Regions from separate parts of the Homo sapiens genome. Here region 2 is linked to region 1. Evidence: promoter capture Hi-C in human tissues and cell types (Jung and others, 2019). All regions are on one chromosome and are shown on one strand. The core of a region is centred on a gene start or on the middle of the fragment in contact, and the rest is flanking DNA. Distances in the headings are between cores, read along the strand shown. Region 1 holds the start of ZNF749 (zinc finger protein 749). Region 2 overlaps ZSCAN5A-AS1 (ZSCAN5A antisense RNA 1).

Region 1 (2,925 bases), core at 310-2,809:
CATAAGGCATTATCCAAATCTTCATTTGTTGGGGGCATGGTTTTCAGGTAGTATTGCCACCACCTGATGGCAATACTATTGCTACTCAATTTTTCTCTCACTGCTACTCAATTGCAGTGAGAGAAAAATAGCTCTAAATGCCGACTTTTTGTAGTGCATTGTAAAAAGCTGAATAAAGCCAGGGACGGTGTCCTGTACCTACAGTCCCAGCTGCTCTAGAGGCTGAGGTGGGAAGATAGCTTTAGCTCAGGAGCTGAGGCCTTATCATAAGGCCTTATAAGACTACCTGGAGGCTTCATCTGCATGATATAACCTTGGTCTTCACAACCCCTTGTCTTTTTTTGTTTTTGAGACGGAGTTTCGCTCTTGTTGCACGGGCTGGAGTACAATGGCGAGATCTCGGCTCACCGTAACCTCCGCCTCCCGGGTTCAAGCGATTCTCCTGCCTCAGCCTCCCGAGTAGCTGGCATTACAGGCATGTGCCACCATGCCCGTCTAATTTTGTATTTTTAGTAGAGATGGGGTTTCTACATGTTGGTCAGGCTGGTCTCGAACTCCCAACCTCAGGTGATCCGCCCACCTCGGCCTCCCAAAGTGCTGGGATTACAGGCGTGAGATACCACGCCCGGCCCACAACCCCTTAACCCAGACAACCATTTCTACTGATTCCAGGTCTTTAGATACAAACTCTTTCAACCAATTGCCAATCGGAAAATCTTTGAACCCACCTGACCTGGAAGCCCCGCCCCTCCCTTCCAGTTGCGCCTTTCCAGAGGAATCCAATGTACATTTTACATGTATTGATTGATGTCTTACGTCTTCCTAAATTGTTAAAACCAAGCTGTAGATGGGCCACCCTGGGCATATGTTCTTAGGATATCTTGGAGCCGTGTCATGGGCCATTAGTCACTCATATTTGTCTCAGAATAAATCTCTTCAACTATTTCACAAAGTTCCACCCTTTTCGTCGACAGAAAGATATTCCTCCTTCAACTCTCCATCACATCCTGTGTGGGTCTTTTCTTTCTTGTCCCAACAGAAGCACACTAACGATCAAAAAAAAGTCTCCAGAGCCTCAGTATGTGTGTACTTGACAAGCACAAAAGAGCTGACCGCTATGAATGGAGGACCAGTTCATTATGGTCAGCCATGTCGCTTCTGATGTTCTTCCTTTCGGGACTTGCTGTGCTTCAGAGAATCTGAAACGACAGGTCTCTGAAATATTTCTCAGACTTGTCCTAGACTGCTCTCCGGGAAAATCTGGTTACTTGCAGTTTAGGAGTCAGCAAAGCCCCTCCACGTCCTTAAGAGCCCCGGAACTGCATTTCTTAACGCTCCTCCAGGAGCCTCCAGCTTTTTTCCGTAAGGTCCGCGCGCCCAGCATTGTGAGGCGAGGCAGGCAGCAGCGTGGGAACTACATTACCCAGAAGACACTGCGGGCGACACAGGCAGCAACGTGAGAACTACATTACCCAGAAGACACTGCGGGGGCAGGGCAGCGAGTGTAGCCATTGGTCTAGCAGAGAGACGACTAATGAGGTCTCAATTGTGTGGGCGGGACTTCTGGCGGCGCCCTCATGGTTGCGTTAGCATGGCTACCTAGGGATCTGTTCACTGATTTAGAGGGTCCCAGAGCTCTGGGTCGGGACTGAGGTGAAAGAGCGGAAAAACGCGAGAAGCGGTGTTCCTTCTACACAGAGGCTAGAGTGCGGATCGGCTGAGTCGGCTGCAGGCGCCCCTGCCTCCGTCAGCGTCCAGGTGACCGCCGTTCCCGCCCCGCTCTTCCCTGGGTGGACTGGAGGAGGCCGCGCCGATGAACCTGACCGAGGTGCGTGCAGCGTCCCAGGCCGCCCCGCCCAACCCCTCCTCCCAGTGCTGAAGTCCCAAGGAGCCGCCCTGCAGGTTAGGCCCTTGTGTCTCTAAGAGAGGGGCGTTCTTGTGTGGGGTGCCCGGGACTGGGACTGCGGTGCGATGAGGCGGGGGAGCTCCCGTCGGAGACCGACACGTCTCTGGGGCTTGGAGGCACTGCAGAACGGGCGGCACTGGGGAGCCCGAGCGTCTTTGTCTCCAAGGAGCAGAGGTTGAGGCGGAGTCTCCCCTGGAAGGGCAGTGGAGCCGCAGAGAGCCATAGAGGGCTGTGCAGGGAGGACGAATGGGAGGGTCACGCCCAGAGTTAGAAGTTTAAAGTTGGGGAAAACAGGATGTTGAACGGGGGCAGGGGGACCGCTGAGGAGACCCCTTGAGTTATGGTAGGGCTGGGCCAGAGGGGTTGCAGTAGAGGGGAGATGTGATGAGACTCTGGATGGATCTCAGAGATAGGGTCAACAGGATTTCCTGCTGCATCAAACATAGCTGTGAGGGAAAGTCGGTAGTGAATGGTGTCTTCCATAGGTTTTGTTTTGGCCTGAAAAATCTGAAAGAATGGAATTAGAGATATCAGCTTAAGGAGCGGGTTTCAGACAGAAGATCCTGGGTTGGATTTTGGGCGACATCACATGGGTAGGTGGACGTAATTTCCAAAGGTGAGGGAAGGTAGCTGGCCTGGAGCTTTAAATGAGTTAGAAGTTGTGCACTTGAGAAGTTGGCCTGTGGATCAGATTGAGAAGGAAGAATCCTACATCGTTTTTTCATATGGGCTGAGGTAGGGGAGGGCTCAGATTTGGAGGAAAGACCATGGTAGGGAGGGCATCTCTGATACTCCCTGCAGAAGGGAGCAGATATGGGCTAAGAGTCTGGTCTGTTTCTGTTGAAAAAGAGGCCTGGATGGATAAGGAGTTGCCCTGGAATACAGAGACTGAGGCATGAGATAATTGTAGTCACTCCACCCTTCTAACTCAGCTGGCCCTGAGGGCCACTCTTTAGGGAACAAGATAAGGCCATGCAGCAACTGGGTCCAAAACTGGGCAGGGCTTTCTCACATCCTCC
Region 2 (2,988 bases), core at 91-2,590, 1.1 Mb before region 1:
TTCCTGGCTTATTTCACTTAACATAATGTCCTCCAATTCTATCCATGTTGCAGCAAATAACATTTTATTCTTTTTTATGGCTGAATAATATTCCATTGTGTATATGTATCATATTTTGTTCTTCAGTTGGTCAAGAGGTATATGAAACTCTGTTCAACATCAGCACATCAGGGAAATGCAAATCAAAACCACAATGAGAAATTATCTCACTCCAGTTAAAATGGCTTTTATCAGAAAGCCAAAAAATAATGGATGCTGGTGAGGATGCAGAGTAAGGGGAACCCTCGTACAATGTTGGTGGGAAAGTAAATTAGTACAGCCACTATGGAAAACTGTGGTGGTTCATCAAACAACTAAAAATAGAATCCCCATGTGACTGGCATTCCCACTGCTGTGTACATGTTCAAAAAAAAAAAAAAAAAAGGAAGTTAGTAGGTCAAAAAGATATCTGCCCTCCCACATTTACTGACACAAATTTCTGAGGGCCTGTGGAGGAAAAGTTAAATATTAAGTTTGAATTCAATTGAACATGGCCACAAACAATGGTCACCAAGTCCTGGAACAGGTTGTGTGAGCCCCTTGAGGCATTCACCCAGCACTGTTTTGGAGAACTGTCTATTTCAATCTATTCCTATACATTAGTTATTGAAAAACAATAGACAACCACAAAAAAAAGTTGACCTTTTTGTGTTCCTTGAGCCCAGTCGTGAAGGGCCCTTGTGACTGGGCCTCATGTCAAACAACTCCTTACAAAAAGAACTAGGGTCCCAGACTGCGTTGAAGCTTCATGAGACCTCTCATTTTCTGTGCATGGACGAGTGTCTGACTCTGGAGCCTAGGCTGTTGCTTCCCAGCCTGGTGGTGAATCCTCCATAGTCTGGTGAGTGTAAATAGATGTATATCTTTTCCCTTCTTCCCTCCCCATTGCAATTTGCTTATTATATCCATTTGCTTATTATATAATTTGCTTATTCTATCTACATTGCCATTTACGTGGGATAAAGGTTGTTTACCCTTAAAGGTATTGTGTGTGTGTCTTTTCTTCTCCCCTCACACGTTTCCCACACAGAATGGGGCCCCTCCCCAGAAACTGTCTTCCTTCCTAATGTCCCGCTTTATGGGAGCTCAGTTCAAGATGAGATTTGGGTGGGGACACAGCCAAACCATATCAATGACTGCTTTGTTTGGCCCAGATTCCAGTTGTATCTACTGGGAGAGGAATTATCCCCTGAAAGAGAACAGGGAGGTCATGGGGCTTAGCTTGCTAGGTTCCCTTCTTGTGTGAATTTCACTCTTGCATGACCTTTTATCCCTGCCTGAAAACTGTTGCCAGATAGAATGCATCCAGGTTTGTTGTTTTCTGTATCAGGAAGTCCAGTCTAGCACCAGTCACTCTGTCATCACCAGAAGTAGACACTTAAAAAAAAAAATAGCGTTTGAAGGGGTTAAGGAGGGAGAATTCATTAGATTAGTGAGGCAGATATACTGGTTATCTGTTGTTGTTGTTGTTGTTGCTGTTTTCAGGATTTCAGGGCCTAGATTTTATGACAAGAAATATTTCAAGAGGATTAGAGTGTGGTGTTAAAGAATTAAGAAGACAATATATATTGAGTGCCTTTTGCCAGCTTTGAGTTTTGATTAACAAAAAATTACATATATTTAGAGTGTACAATGGGATGTCTTGATGTATGTATATATTGTGGTTTTTTTTTTTGAGATGGAGTCTTGCTCTGTTGCCCAGGCTGGAGTGCAGTGGTGTGATCTCCGCTCACTGCAAGCTCCACCTCCCGGGTTCACGCCATTCTCCTGCCTCAGCCTCCTGAGTAGCTGGGACTACAGGCCCCCGCCACCACGCCCAGCTAATTTTTTTTTTTGTATTTTTAGTAGAGACGGGGTTTCACCGTGTTAGCCAGGATGGTCTCGATCTCCTGACCTCGTGATCGGCCCGCCTCGGCCTCCCAAAATGCTGGGATTACAGGCGTGAGCCACCACGCCTGGCCTGATATACGTATATATTGTAAAATGTCTAAAACAAGCTAATAAATATATCCACATCTCACAGTTACCATTGTGTGTGTGTGTGTGTGTGTGTGTGTGTGTGGTGAGAACATTTGAGATAACTCTTGAAAAATTTCAAGTACACATTAGGATTCTCTATGTTCACCATGCTATACATTAGGTCTCTAACAGTATTTCATCTTATAGCTGAAAGTTTCTGCCCTTAGACAAGCATCTCCCCAATCCCCCAACCCTCCACCCCTGGTAACTGCCATTCTACTCTCTGTTACTACTCTCTGAGTTTGACTTTTTAATATTCCACATATAAATGGGAATCACGCAGTATGTGGCTCTCTGTGCGTGGCTTATTTCACTTCCCATAGTGTACCGCTGGGTGCCTTTCAGTACTGGGCGATTAACTGCAAATGACACCCCCACCCACACATGCTCTCACGTAAATGTGCGGCATCTCTCCCTCCACTTCACTAATGGTACAAATCCCACTAGATCTCGAGTCTCCTCTGCTTTGATTTCCATCATGGGCCCTAATATGCAACATATTGATGCGCTGCTCATAATCAATCATGCCAAGTCTTCTTCATGCCTGTGGCTTCCTCTTCAACACATAAAGAAACCAGCCTTGAGCAGAACATAGCAGCTGAAAGACACTCCTTACACTTTGCTCTGTACCCATCATTCACTCATCCAGCAAACATTCACTCAGTGCTATATGCTGACCCACCTACAATGCCCTTCACGAGTTGAGGTTGTGCTTAACCTCAAAATAGTCATGTGACACTTACATGAATATAGAAAAGCTACAGTGATTTTTTTTTTTTGTTAGAGATAGAGTCTAATTTCAGGTGTCCATTAGGATTTACTACATTCGTCATGCTATATATACATTAGGTCTCTAATGTCACCCAGGCTGGAGTGTAGTGACACGATCATGGCTCACTCCAGCCTCAAACTCCTGGGCTCAAGCAATAC

The links. The method cuts DNA at HindIII sites, captures the fragments that hold promoters and counts their contacts. A contact is called where the count stands out against the background at its distance.
Region 2: a contact is called between a fragment that was not itself captured here and the fragment with the promoter of ZNF749 in region 1, in 1 of the 25 tissues and cell types used here (aorta).

The regions. Positions count from the first base shown.
Region 1 is chr19:57,433,766-57,436,690 of GRCh38, forward strand. ZNF749 (zinc finger protein 749) reads left to right here and starts at 1,560. Exons shown (of 3, transcript NM_001023561.4): 1 at 1,560-1,828. The coding sequence starts at 1,814. RefSeq lists enhancers at 1,145-1,444, 2,075-2,124. The HindIII fragment of the contact is 7,932 bases long and covers 1-2,925 here.
Region 2 is chr19:56,324,237-56,327,224 of GRCh38, forward strand. The region is part of intron 1 of ZSCAN5A-AS1 (ZSCAN5A antisense RNA 1); the gene reads left to right. It also overlaps a transcript of ZSCAN5A not described here. Among named protein-coding and RNA genes, the nearest start is that of ZSCAN5A, 11 kb to the left of the region's middle. The HindIII fragment of the contact is 7,309 bases long and covers 1-2,988 here.